4 separate regions of the Homo sapiens genome follow, and all the other regions are linked to region 3. The links are contacts of gene promoters, found by promoter capture Hi-C in blood cells and fetal thymus (Javierre and others, 2016). All regions are on one chromosome and are shown on one strand. The core of a region is centred on a gene start or on the middle of the fragment in contact, and the rest is flanking DNA. Distances in the headings are between cores, read along the strand shown. Region 1 holds the start of SLC48A1 (solute carrier family 48 member 1). Region 2 holds the start of COX14 (cytochrome c oxidase assembly factor COX14). Region 3 holds the start of DDX23 (DEAD-box helicase 23). Region 4 holds the start of HDAC7 (histone deacetylase 7).

What was found. Contacts are between HindIII fragments. The CHiCAGO score rates a contact against its expected background, and 5 or more counts as called.
Region 1: a contact is called between the fragment with the promoter of SLC48A1 here and the fragment with the promoter of DDX23 in region 3, in 4 of 17 cell types (erythroblasts, neutrophils, total B cells and 1 more). The highest score is 8.9, in erythroblasts.
Region 2: a contact is called between the fragment with the promoter of COX14 here and the fragment with the promoter of DDX23 in region 3, in 5 of 17 cell types (monocytes, neutrophils, non-activated CD4 T cells and 2 more). The highest score is 8.8, in monocytes.
Region 4: the fragment with the promoter of HDAC7 here is called in contact with the fragment with the promoter of DDX23 in region 3 in 2 of 17 cell types (neutrophils and M0 macrophages); the score reaches 8.6 in neutrophils.

Annotation. Positions count from the first base shown.
Region 1 is chr12:47,771,988-47,775,247 of GRCh38, reverse strand. SLC48A1 (solute carrier family 48 member 1) reads right to left here and starts at 2,010. Exons shown (of 3, transcript NM_017842.3): 1 at 1,808-2,010. The coding sequence starts at 1,943. RefSeq lists enhancers at 778-1,282, 1,283-1,789 and a silencer at 1,535-2,144. The HindIII fragment of the contact is 7,379 bases long and covers 1-3,260 here.
Region 2 is chr12:50,110,287-50,113,485 of GRCh38, reverse strand. It overlaps COX14 (cytochrome c oxidase assembly factor COX14), which reads right to left and starts at 1,250. Exons shown (of 2, transcript NM_032901.4): 1 at 1,185-1,250. GPD1 (glycerol-3-phosphate dehydrogenase 1) reads right to left here. Exons shown (of 8, transcript NM_005276.4): 8 at 2,173-3,199. RefSeq lists enhancers at 921-970, 981-1,220, 1,441-1,700, 1,761-1,810. The HindIII fragment of the contact is 7,994 bases long and covers 1-2,278 here.
Region 3 is chr12:48,850,785-48,853,819 of GRCh38, reverse strand. It overlaps DDX23 (DEAD-box helicase 23), which reads left to right and starts at 1,657. Exons shown (of 17, transcript NM_004818.3): 1 at 1,657-1,736. It overlaps LOC105369755 (a long non-coding RNA gene), which reads right to left and starts at 2,099. Exons shown (of 2, transcript XR_944925.3): 1 at 2,006-2,099; 2 at 1,271-1,770. RefSeq lists enhancers at 523-732, 1,612-1,801. The HindIII fragment of the contact is 5,632 bases long and covers 1-3,035 here.
Region 4 is chr12:47,818,529-47,821,795 of GRCh38, reverse strand. It overlaps HDAC7 (histone deacetylase 7), which reads left to right and starts at 1,893. Exons shown (of 26, transcript NM_015401.5): 1 at 1,893-2,029. The coding sequence starts at 2,011. RefSeq lists enhancers at 131-1,052, 2,391-2,964 and silencers at 1,603-1,942, 2,083-2,162, 2,173-2,482. The HindIII fragment of the contact is 23,145 bases long and covers 1-3,267 here.

The DNA of each region.
Region 1 (3,260 bases), core at 761-3,260, 1.1 Mb after region 3:
AGTATAAGAAAGAAGGCCTTTTCCACAGCCCTCTAGGAGGCAGCTGGAGACTCAGGGAGTGGGCAGCACTGCAAGATTTCAGATCTGGAGGGAAGTCAGATGTCTTTTGGGGACATCTCCTCCCACTCCTAATAGATGAGGAAACTGTGGCCCAGGATAGGGTCAAACGGCCAGGTAGGGTTCACCTCCACTTGTACCAGGCCAGACTCAACACAACCAGCTGAGATCCCAGGCTGGCCCTCCCTGCTCATCCTTCTCTTGCCTTCGGTCTTCGCAATGCAATCATAGGGCTCTGACGCCGCCTTCCAGAGGGGAAAGCAACAGGGCCAATAGGAAACAAAAAAGTGGCAGGGAGAAGTGAACCTTGACAAACATGGAGGGTGGCGGGGTGCAGTGGGGAAAGGAACTAGGGCTCTGTAGATAACGCGCAGAGATGGGCCAGTTGTCCTCAGGATCCCACAGGTGGTGAGGCAGCTGGGCAGGCAGAGAACACCCTAGCCAGGGTGCCCATCCCCCCTTCTTGGTGACCCAGTGCTTTGTTGGCATTGTGTAGGGTGGGGCCCTGTATGCCCCTCTTCTAAGGCATTAACCCCACCTCATGCTGCGACTCTACCCAGGGATGGCACTCAGCACTCCCTGTGGCAGTGAGTAAATTAGTTATTTTTAGTTATTCCATTTAGGGTTCTTTTGGCCGAGGATTTTAGTAATGGAATATAATCATCATATGTAAAAGTATTATACGTATTTTCTTCCCAAAGTCCTTTCCCACACATATTATTTCATGTAGCTGTGTAATCCCGGGTAAGCAATTTATTTAACTTCAGGCCTCAGTTTCCTTATCTGTAAAATGGACATAATCGTAAGGCCTACTTCATGAGACTAATGTAAGGATTAAATGAAATAAGGGAAGCAGGTTGCTTAACATAGTGCCTGACACATAGAAAGCATTTTTTAAAATGTTAGAAAGTAGAGATAATATTTTTCATCTTCATACCAATTCTATGGCGCAGAGAGGTTAAACTGCGAGCCCAAATGTGCACAACAAGGAGCACTGGTCAGCCCAGAGCCCCCATCAGCGCACCGATGCTTCCCCTTCCCTCCCAGAAGCACAGAAAGGGCGGCTGGCCTGCAGGATTTGGCAGAGCTTGGCTGAGGAGCCACAGCAGACGGGTAGCAAAAAGGCACCAACATGGGTGGAAAGAGAATGTCCAGTTTCTATGAGATCCCTAACGCCGTCCTCCCTGTGGGTCTCAGCAGAGGGCTCTGCGGGGGAGCCCTCTGGAAGGAGGGAGATGGGCTTCCCCAGCCACCCCTAGCCCTCTTCCTTTCCCACTTCTTCCCTCTCTGCCCTCACCCAGCACCCAGGGAAGGGGCGCCTGGGGGGCAGGGGATCCCTCAGAACAACCGTGTGTGTGTGCGTGTGTGTGTGTGTGTGTGTTTGGGGATAGGAGGCGACCAGCGCCGCGGGCGCGCGGAGGGGACACTGTCGTGGGGCAACTGGGCGGAGGGCGACAGGCAGTGTGCCGTGACAGATAACCCGGGCGGCGCGGCAGGTCTGTGCAGCCGGCAGTGGCGGGCCGTCGGCACCCCCAGGTGGCGCCCGGGCGGGCATCGGGTCTCAGAGGCACCCAGGAATGCCCAGGAGCCCGGGCCCGCGTGGGGCCTGCCGCCGCCAACCGCTGTTTTCGAGTAAACACTCCACCCGCTCCGCGGGGAAGCGCCGCTCGCGGGGAGCGTCCTGGAGCAGCTGACGGCGCCCGCCCCGCAGCCGCGCACCCGCCCCGCGCCGCCCAGCGTCCCGGGGTACCTGCGAGCCCTCCCATGGCCGCGGTCCCCGGCTGTCGGTAGACCACCGTCCAGACGAGGAAGATGGAGAAGCCGGCCACGGAGCTGATGCCGGAGTAGGCGGCGCGGAGGCCGAGCTGCAGCCTGGACGGGGCCATGGGGCTGCGGCGCCGGGCGGGCCGAGGGCGAGCGCGGCCGAGAGTCACAGGTGCAGGGCCCGAAGCCGCCAGCCGGAGCCGCGGGAGCCGCCAGAGCAGCCGGCGCCCCGCGCTCCGCCCCCGGCCCGCCCCCAGCGCCGCCCGCACAGCGCCCTCCCCGGCCGGAGGCCGCCCGCGCCCGGAACCGCAGACGCCACCGCCGCTTTGCGAAGCTGCCGTGTCGTTTGGGGGAATGCTGCTAAAAAGGCGGATTCCTGGGCCCATCCCCAGACCCGCCGTGTCCGGATTGTTGGACCTTGGAAGGGACCGGAAATATGCCTTTATACGAGCGAACCGCGAGGATTAAAAATCTTTACCTCTGAGTACGATGCGTATTTTCGTTTAAAATTAAAATTAAAATTTCTTGTTAAAAATTAATAGGTAAAACTTAAGAAATATTAGAGTACGCTGTGAATAGAATTCCTTCCGCCCGTCCTTCTATCAACCAGGTTCCCTCCCACCATATCGCAGAGGATTTCTCCACACACTAAAGTCTGGGAACCCCTGCGACCATCACCTTCTGACTGCAAACATTCTATACATTCTATCCTCACGCACAGCTCCCCACAAATCCCTACTTTTTTTTTTTTAAACAGAGTCTCACTCTGTTGCCCGGGCAGGAGTACAGTGGCGCCATCATAGCTCCGCATCCTCCAACACCTGGATTCAAGCAATGCTCTCACCTCAGCCTTCCAAGCAGCCAGGACTACAGGTGTGTGCCACCACGCCTGGCTAGTATTTTTTGTTATTTATTTTTTGTAGAGATAGGGTCTCGCTATATTGCCCAGGCTGGTCCCCAACTCCTGGCCTCAAGCTGTCTTCCCACCTCGGCCTCCCAAAGCGCTGGAATTACAGGCTTGAGCCACTGCAACGGACCTCACCTTTCCTTTTATCAGCACAAGCCTTATCCTCCCAAACCCCTCACCCTGACCCTCGGGATCATACCATTGTAAGGAAGAGACAGATCTGTAGCAGGAGGGCACTGAGCTCCCACGTGAGCCCAGCTTCCGGCCGGGAGCTGGAGGGAAAATCCCAGCACAATAACAAGGGCTCTGCCACAGCACTAAGGATCCACATGGGGAGGCCCATCATATACCTGCACAAAACATAACCAATACCCCTTGCATTAGTTTTTTTTGTGTGTGTGCTGCCGTAACAAATTACCACAAATTTACTGATTTAAAATAACACAAACTTATTATTATTTTACAGTTCTGTAGGTCAGGAATCCAAATAATGGTCTCACTGGGCTAAAATCAAGGGGACATCAGGGTTGCC
Region 2 (3,199 bases), core at 1-2,500, 1.3 Mb before region 3:
TAAAAACACAAAAAATTAGCCGGGCGTGGTGGCGGGCACCTGTAGTCCCAGCTACTCTGGAGGCTGAGGCAGGAGAATGGCATGAACCCGGAAGGCGGAGCTTGTAGTGAGCCGAGATCCCGCCACGGGACCCCAGCCTGGGCGACAGAGCAAGACTCCGTCTCAAAAAAAAAAAAAAAAAATTGCGTAAACGTATGGGTAGAAGTGCGATTTTGTTACATGCATACACTGCATAGTGGTCAACTCAGGGCTTTTAAGGTATCCATCATCTTTTATCTACTTTTTGTTTGGCACTTAGAGAGTAGTACATCGGCCGGGTACGGTGGCTCACGCCGGTAATCCCAACACTTTGGGAGGCCGAGGCGGGAGGATGGCTTGAGCTCAGGAGTTGGAGACCAGGTTGGGCAACATAGGGAGACCTTTTCTCTATTTAAAAACAACAACAACAACAACAAAAAAAAAACCTTTTTTTAAAAATTACCCGGGCGTGGTGGCGCACACCTGCAGCCTGAGCGACAAAGCAAGACCCTGTCTCAAAATAACATAACATAACATAACATAACATAACATAACATAACGTACATCATGCTACGGAGGCCGCTAAAAAGAACATGGCTTCTGTCATACAGGAGCTTATGGTCTCATGGAGAGGCACTGTGAGAGTTCAGAGACAACAGCTCAAAGACAGGGTGGGGGCTTGAGAAAACTTAGCAGAAAGGTGTAGGGGTGGGAATCGGGGTGGGAGTGGAACTGTCTTTTTAGAAGGATGGCCTGGAGAAGAGGAGCAGTGAGAGCATTCCAGGAAGTGAAAGCGGTCAAGAGGTGGAGCTGGATAGCCGATATGCACGAAGGGTGCCCCGGAGAGCCACTTATCAGGACGCAGAGGTCTATAGAGCAAGGAAGAGGCAGAGTTGGAGCGTGGAGGGTCGAGACGCCAGGCAGGAGTCGAGGTTTGACAGGATTAGCGCTGAGCTCTAGCAAGACTGACCTACTGCTGCGAGGAGCTTGGGCTTGGGCAGGAAGCAGTGCAGCTCGCGGTCCGCAACGCAACAGAAGCGGGTGAATTCAAGGGCACCAGGCCTGCAGACTAGGGGATGGGAGGACGCGGCAAGCGGAGACTGGCCCAGGTGGGCGCGCAGGCAGTGGGACTGGCAGCCCCTGCTCGGCCCTAGCCGGCAGCGTACCTGGATGCTGCAGCTCCTTCGCATCCAACCGAGGCCTCCTCAGGCAGGCAGGGTCTCGAGGCCACTGTCTACGCAACTTCCCAGCACAGCCGAACGCAGCACTCGGAACCAGACACGTGAGGGTAGCGTCCCTGGACAACCCTGAACGCCTCAGCTATTGGTGCAGAAAGCAACTTTCTCCCTCCCACCTGCCGGGTTAGCCTCTAGGATTCGGCTTGCCGCGCTATAAAGGGAACTGCGCATCAGACGCGGCACAACTCCGCCCACTAAGGCGGGAGTCCGCGCAGGCCGTCACTCTGGCTGGAGGCCGGCTTTGAACTTCCGGCTTCCGGGCCCGTTATCCTTACTACGCATCCTCAGACGCGCCGTGCTCTCGGAGAGGCCCGCTGAATTCTGGGGGCTGTGGTTTCTCTCCCTCGAGGGAGGGTCTTTGGCGAGCCAAGCTCTGGAACCGGAAGTTTTAGGATGCTAAATCAGAGTCAGCCAATCCTCAGCCTACGGTGCGGTGACGTCGCCAGTAGCTGGGTAGATTTTCGCAGCCGGCCTTCTGGAGGTGGATCGCGCGCCCCCTAGAGCCCGGCTGTGGGCCTAGTCCAGGTAGGGGCCCGAGGGGCACCGCGATGCCTGGACCGCTAAGGATGCGGCAGCTTGGCCCGTGACCAAGGAATGGGCACAAGGGATGAGAGTCTAACGTTTCCGTCCCGTGTGTGATCTCTATTCTTGCAGGAGGCATGATAAAGCCCCTAAGAAGGGCCGGCAAGGCCGGGGCCAGCTTGCGGCGAGGGCGGGAGGGGGCGCTGGCGGGAGGGGAGAGAGAGGGATGGGGACTGAGTGGGCACCGCCGCTGACCCCTGGAGTAGCTGCGATTATGGAGGAGGGATTTCTTTTTTCATTTTTCCTACGGTAAGAGGGAAAACATACGTGCAATGATACGCGCCAGCACACGCACTGCCACATGCACTGAAGCTCCCTCTCCCAACTCTTCTTGTTTCTGGAAAAAACACGCTTTATTGGGTAGACAAATAGGCCTGATGGGAAGGCCTGAGTCACAGTGCACTGGGGAGTGAACAAAAGTAGGCAAAGTGCTTGAAGCTTCCCCTTTGCCCCCACCTTAACCTCCTGGGGAGGCAGCTCTGGACACTCAGTACCCAGACCTGGGCTCAGCAAGGCCTGGGGTGACTGTGCCCCTCACTCCTGCTGCCTGATCTGGGCAGCCCCACCCTTCACTGGTAAGACAGAATTCTCAAGGGATAGGCGCAGAGAGGAGCCCGCCTCCCTGGTTCATTGGAGAGTAACAGGGTTTTAGCATAATGCTGGCCAGAGCCAGTGTGCCAGGTGCTGCCACACAGGAAGCTGACAGCCCTGCTGGACGGGCGGGAGCCTCTCGGGCCCTCCGGACTATTTATAGCTGGAGGCCTAGGCTGCTGACCTGTGACATTCCTCTGCTGCCACCCCATCCTGGAGCAAGGCAAGTGCAGAGCACACTCCTCCTCCTCCCCTCCTGTTCTTTCCTCACCCCAGGGAGTAGGGTGGTTTTGATTTTCTTCCTCCTCCTTGAGTTTCCCAGCTCTCGAGTTGCTGGTGTTGTCAGTACCTCACGAGAAGGCCCTCATTCAGCAAAGAGAGCTGCCCTTGGAATATTGGTGCCCACCAACATAGGAATCTGCTCACCCTTCCCTACCGTTCATCAGCCTTTGGGCCACCCTCTGGCCTGCTGGCTTCCAGATGCCAGGCATGGTTAGCTGGTTACCCTGGCCGGTCTGGAGCAGCTGAGGAAGAGGTGCAGAGTTTGGGAGGAAGAAAGGGGTGGAGTCAGGGATGTCCTCTGGGGAGATAGCACAGGAGGGGCCCAGCTGACACCTCCCCCAGCTAGAGCTACTGAGAAGGAAGCCTGGGTGAATACAAAGGTCACAGGGAGCTGAGTGATCTGAGCCTGTTATGAAAGGTGTAGCTCTGTCAGCAGATTAAGTTCCTGCTCCCCAAAGAGGGTGCTGGCGGGGAGGGTGAGGGAAGGC
Region 3 (3,035 bases), core at 408-2,907:
TTTGCTCTGTCACCCAGGCTGTAGTGCAGTGGCACGAGCATGGCTCACTGCGACCTCGACCTCCTGGGCTCAAGCAGTCCTCCTGTCTTGGCCTCCCAAAGTGCTGAGATACAAGCATGAGCCACCTCACCTGGCCCATTCTTTTAACTATGTGGCCTTTGAAGGCATAATTACTCTTTCTGGGCCACAATCTCCTTACCAGTAAAATGGAGATAGCACTCATCTCATACTGCTATGAGAACTAAGTAAAACAAATAAGGTAGGTTAAGTGTCCAGCCCAGAGCTGAGCACTTAGAAGATTCTCAATAAAAAGTGGCTGCAGTTTTTGAAGATTCTGGCCTACCATGGTTGGTCTGATTCTTAGTTTAATCTGTGAATCTGTGAGTCGAGCGCCCTCTCGTGCTTTTGTGGTGAATTACACCTAACAGATCTCAGAGCTCTCTTCTTTCCCTTGCGTTCTCTCTGGAGTAGAAGCTGGGAGGTGAAAGGCTGCAGGTTCTAAGAGAAGTGTGTGTCTCCGAGGGTTACTTTGGGCCATTGTACGTGATGCTCAGGGCTTTAGGATTACTTGGGTCTATCCTGAGGCTCTGCTTGAGAGCTTGGGCATATTCAGAGAGAAAAGGCAGACCTACAGCCATGTGGAATTGAAGCAACAAACCTGCTGCTGGCAAAATGGGAAGGGAGGTCCGAGATACTTCTGGTTATCTAAACCGTTTCCGCAACTGCAATGTTTTGTTTTGTTTTGAGGGAAAGAGTTATGAACCCATAAGACCAAAGAGAAACACAAAGTGAACTTACGATTTGAGGTTAAAACAACAACAACAACATCAACAACAACAACAACAGCAACAACAAAACTCAGTGGAAGACTGAAGTAGGGGAATCTGGGGGAAGAAAGAAGCAAAAATACCAAGATAGCTCAACAATTGGTCACATTCCAAAGGGCAAGAAATTGAGGAAACCAGGGTTCCATCTGGAATGTTGAGAAAACAGGTGCTAGAGCCCAGGAGATACCATCCTTCCGGGAGGACTTTAGAGCCCATTGTGTGGGCTCATTTGGAGCTGTAACAATAACTGGGGGTTGTTATGGCATTCACCCGGCTGCAGGGGCCAAGGTTGCTAAAACGTCCTCCTAAGCCTGGGATAGTTCCACACACAATGGAGAACTGCATCACCCTCCTTGTGAACCTACTCCGGTAACCTGATCTTTAGTTTGTCCAACTGTAAAATGGGGCTAGCCCCATTCTCACAGAATTATTATAAAAACCGCTTTTCCACGAATGGTATTTATTGTTACTGCGGTTGTTAGCTATAATTACGTACTACAGATATCTCAGGAAGCCCTTAAATTCCTCCACTGTAAGCCACGGGCAAGGACAGTCATAGACCGTAGTTTCTAGGAAGACCAGCCGATTCCAAGAAGGGTGCTCGGCGGGAGAACCTAATGCCGAAAGCCTATTGGCGAAAAACTCTTCCTTCCCGGACGCTAACGTCTGGCAAACCACATTGCCCGGCAGACCCCGCAGCCTGGGGCCGGCGCTCAAGTCATGCATTCTGGGATTGGTAGTTTCCAGGCCTCAGTGTCGGCCTGTGCCGCCCAGCTCCAGGAACTCGCCTTCCCAGCTTGCCTCGCGGCCGGGGGGGTGGGGGGTGTTCATCTCCGCGACCAGGAAACGGGAAAGATGGCGACGGCTCCGCGACGTTGAGGCCGCGTTGGGCGGTTCAGACTCAGGGTGGTGAGTCCCGGGCGGTGGAGGCGGTTCCCACGAGCTTACAGAAAGGGCTAGAGTCAGGGCACGGCGGTGGCCCCTGCCTCCTGGATGAGGCGGGAAAGAACGCCTCAGAGAAGGGGCATGAACCCGGGAAGCTCGGGCGGGCTGGAGTGAAGGGGCGCGGGCCCCAGGGGTAGTGTTGGCTCCTCCGGGCACAGGCCACGTCCCTGCACGATATTTTCCTCCCAGGACTCTGCCTATGGGCACAGCGCCTCTGATACCCCCAGTCTGACCTTATTCTTTCATGCTTAAAGTAGCCTTTGGTGCAGCCAAACTGGAACTCTGGCTTTTCTCTCGCAGTCAGTCCATGTTTTCCCGCCTCTGCGCCGGCCGTATTATTTCTTTTGCCGGGAATGACTTCTTTTCCGCGTCCTTAATTACATATCTTAAAATTCTACTTATACTTAAAAGCTCAAGCGTCACTTCCTCTTCCAAGCCTTCCACATCACCTTTTACAAGTGAAAGGAAACGCCTTTGAACACCTGTATTACTACATCTGAGCCTTGATACTCTTCTTGGTATGTGTCTCATACCCCCTATTGTTCTTTTTTTTCTTTTCTTTTCTTTTTTTTTTTGAGACGGAGTCTCGCTCTGTCGCCTAGGCTGGAGTGCAATGGCACGATCTTGGTTCTCTGCAACCTCCGCCTCCCGGGTTCAAGCGATTCTCCTGTCTCAGCCTCCCGAGTAGCTGTGATTACAGGCGCACGCCGCCACGCCCGGCTAATTTTTTGTATTTTTAGTAGAGACGGGGTTTCACCGTGTTCCCCAGGCTGGTCTCGAACTCCTGAGCTCAGGCAATCCACCTGTCTCGGCCTCTTAAAGTGTTAGGATTACATGCGTGAGCCACCGCGTCCGACCTCATAACCCTGTTGTTCTAAACACTTCCTGTGAACAGAATTTATTTTTGTAACTCACATAGCACCTAGCACTGTGCCTTGCGTACAGTAGATGCTTGTTAAATACGTCATTGAGTGAAAAAAAAGAATGTGCCCCTGCCCTGCAAGAACTGAGGACCTGAAGATCTGGAGGTTTGAGAGGAAGGCTGCTGGGAAGCATGGCCAGAGTCAGCCTGGTTATTTGGCCCTTGTGATAATAGAACCTGTAATAAAAGTTGCCTGTATTTACTGTCTTCTTCTCATTTTTCATTCTCTTCCAAACTCATTCCACTCAGGCTTCCATTCCCGCAATGCAACTGAAACAGCTCTTGTCAAGGTCACCAATAATCTCCATTTTTCCAAATTCAGTGGTTACTTCCCTGTCCCT
Region 4 (3,267 bases), core at 644-3,143, 1.0 Mb after region 3:
GCCTCCCGGAGAAAGTGGTATGCCACTTTCTTTTTCTTCCAGTCCTTCCTTCCTTCCTTCCTTCCTTCCCTCCCTCCCTCCCTCCCACTAGATAGGGAGTGGGTCTTGAGGATTGGAAAGATTTCAACAGAAGGAGAAAGGGGCTGGGAGGACATTTCTTTTGGAGGCAGCATGATGAGCGAAGGCAAGGGAGTGTGGAAGCGTGAGGACAGGATGGGAAGCAGCTAGCAGCCCAGTCTGGCAGAAATAATGATAGTAATAATAGTGACTAACACTACTGAGCCCTAAGTACCAGGAGGCACTGGGCAGGGATGTGTATGGAGTGTGGTGCCAGGTTGTAGGAGGACTTGAATGCCAGGAAAGGCTTTTGGGAGGGTAAGTTAACAAGCGCAGAGGGGTTGGATCTGCCTGCCGAAGGAGAACTGGGACAAGGAAAGGGGCTGAAGTAAGAAGTCCCACGCTGAATATGCCGGTAGCAACAGATAGTGAGTCCCGAGCTGTGCCTGAGGGAAGGGAATAGAATCTATGGTTTGAAGTTCACCGCCAGCATGGCCAAGCCCTCCTAGGCCACTGTGGGCTCTTGCTTCCAATCAGACATGACTCCACCTCTGGGGCTGCCTCAATTTTTCCTTCTCTGGATTCTTGGGGTTTCTTAGGATTGCGGGAGATAGAATGGGGTCAGGGGAAGCTGCTCCTTGGTTTACAATGGTGGCGCCTCACGCTGCAGAGAGCCCAGTGTTCCTGCGTGGTGGACCTCTCCCCTTCCTAGGAGCAGCTCCAGATTGCTGGAGGCAGACACGGCTGACCGGCTAGCCCAGGAAGCACAATGGCGAGGTCCTTAGCCCCTGACCCCTGAATCTGACCTTCTCTCCAGCTAAAAGCGGAGGGAGAGGCAGGGAGGGCCACTGCCTAAAGCCGGCCCTGAGCTGAGTTTATTAGCTGAGGGAGGGCTGGAGGCGGCTGCATTCCGACTCACAGACTGGAACATTTCTGTGATCCGCTGTAATGCACTGGGGGACACTGGGCACATTGCTGAAGTTTGACTCATAGGGACCGGGAGGGGGAAAGAGGGGGGTTGTGGAGGGAGAGGAATGGGAGGAAGAGAGGAAGAGGAGAGGAGGGAAGGAAGTCCCTTGAGAAATTTCTTTAAAAAAAGAAAACTTTCAAAATCTGCACCACCCCCACACCCTTTTTCTTTTAATAGGAACAGGCTGGACCCTTCCGTTCCCCTCAGCAGGCATGGTGTGTGTGTGGGGGTGCCAGTGGGGGAGGGCTGGGCAGTGATTCAAATCAGATCCTGGAACTTTCCTGAGGCAAGTCGTGCTTATGTGTGTGTGTGTGTGGTGGGGGGTGTCCGTCTGGGATTCCTTGTATGGGACATGGGACACCACGCGTGTCCCACTGTGCCCGCGTGTGGCTGCGTGCTTGTGGGCTGTACGGGTATGTAGTGTGTGCACGGGGGTCCACCCCGAAGCCCCAGTGTGTGCTGTGTAAATGATTCTGCCCCTTGTAAACATGGATGCGTGCTCGTGTACGTTGTGTATGCGAGGGTGCGTGCGCCCAGGTAGCTGGGTTTCCGGGAATTGTGCACGGCTCGGAGCGCCTCGCGGCGGCTGGGGCTCGGAGCCGCGGCCGGCGTTCCGGGTTCGGCGCTGCCTCCCCGGCAGTGCGCCGCGCCCCGCCGCGATCTGGCCGCGCGCGGTGTCTGCGGCCCGCCTGTGCGCCGCGCGGTGCAGTGTCTGCCGGGGTGGTGTGTCCCAGGGCCGCGAGCGCCTGCCCCCTCCCTCCCCTCCCCCTTGGCCCGCTCTCAGACTCAGATAAAGCATTTCCTTCCATTGTCATCCTACCCGGCCGGCCGGGCTGCCAGGGCCCTCCCCCTCCCGGCCCCCTCCCTTCCTCTCGCCGTCTCACAGTCGCTCTGCAGCCTCCGGCGACTGGGGGGATGTGAGGCCGGCGCCCCAGCCCCCCGCCCCGCCATGAGCCCCCCGCTCTGAGGGCCCCGGCCCCTGGATGCACAGCCCCGGCGCTGGTGAGTACTGGGCGGCCGCCCCCCGCCCCGCCCTGCGCGCGGCACCCAGCGTCGCCCGCCCAGGCTCGGCCTCCGGCCCTGGCCCCGGCTCCGGCTCCGGCTCCGGCTCGGGCTCCCGCCAGCCCCGCGGGCCCAGCCCGGCTTGCGCCCCCCGACCGCGCCTGTCCCGCCCGGCTCCGCGGGGCTCTGGCAGGCTCCGGGTCGGAGCTGGTTCCGGGGGCCGGAGGGCTCGGGCCTCCCGCGGGGCGCCCACATCCGCCCGCCCCGGGGCAGCTACAGGCCCAAGGGAGGGAGTTGGAGGCCCCGGCCGCCGGTGTGCGGGCCCCACGTCCCATCACCCCTGTTCCCGGGGAGGACGAGCCGAGGGACCGGGGAGGGAGGGACGGCCGCGGTGGCCCGGCGAGGGGGCGGTGCTCCGGGGCGGAAGGTTTGGAAGCGCGAGGGCAAAGGGCAGGACCCACTGAGTTGGGGCTGGGCTTTGTGGGGCTGGACATCAGCGCCCCCATCCCGTGGAGCCGGGCAGGGCCCTACTCAGATCCTTCGGCGGGGAAAGAGGTCCCTTGGAGGGGTCTCTGGCTGGGAGGTTTCTCTGAGCATTGCCCCCCATCCTTGCTCACCCATCAGGGTGAAGAGACACCTGTGCCCTGGTGAGCTGTGGAGGTCAATGCCGGCAGCGGCGCGGGAAGCGGGGCGCCGCAGGCTGTGTGAGGGGTGGGGGACAGGATGTGCACCCCCCAGGCCTGGGGTCTGTTGGTGTTGGGGAGTGTGAGAGCAGGCGGCAAATTTGGCGGATGGGCTGGGTTCCCACGACCAGAGTTTCTAGGCCTGTGGGCCAGGAGAGAGCCCTCTGGGGCCCGCAGGCCACCCAGTGCCCCACCCCCATTGCTTCCCGCTGTGGCTGCCCGTTTGGGTCTGACCTCCCCAGCCACGGCTGCTCCTCACTCCTTCTCCCCGCTGGCTGTCTTGCGCACCCAAAGGCCTCCCCCTGCATCTGGACACTGGCTGTCTCGCTGCCAACGCTCCCTGCCCACTCCCCTAGGCAACATCTGCCTGAGGCCCAGCTCTGCCTGCCGCTTTCTAGGGTGAGAATGGGGCATCGGCCCTCAGCGGCCCTGCTGGGAGCTCAAGATCAACTTCTCAGCCTGTTCCCTGGACTTGCATCTGGACCTGTGGGACCTTCCTCAGGACCCCTATTCAGCTATAGGGCTGGCAGGAGACTGTGACTCAGGTCCCTGCCC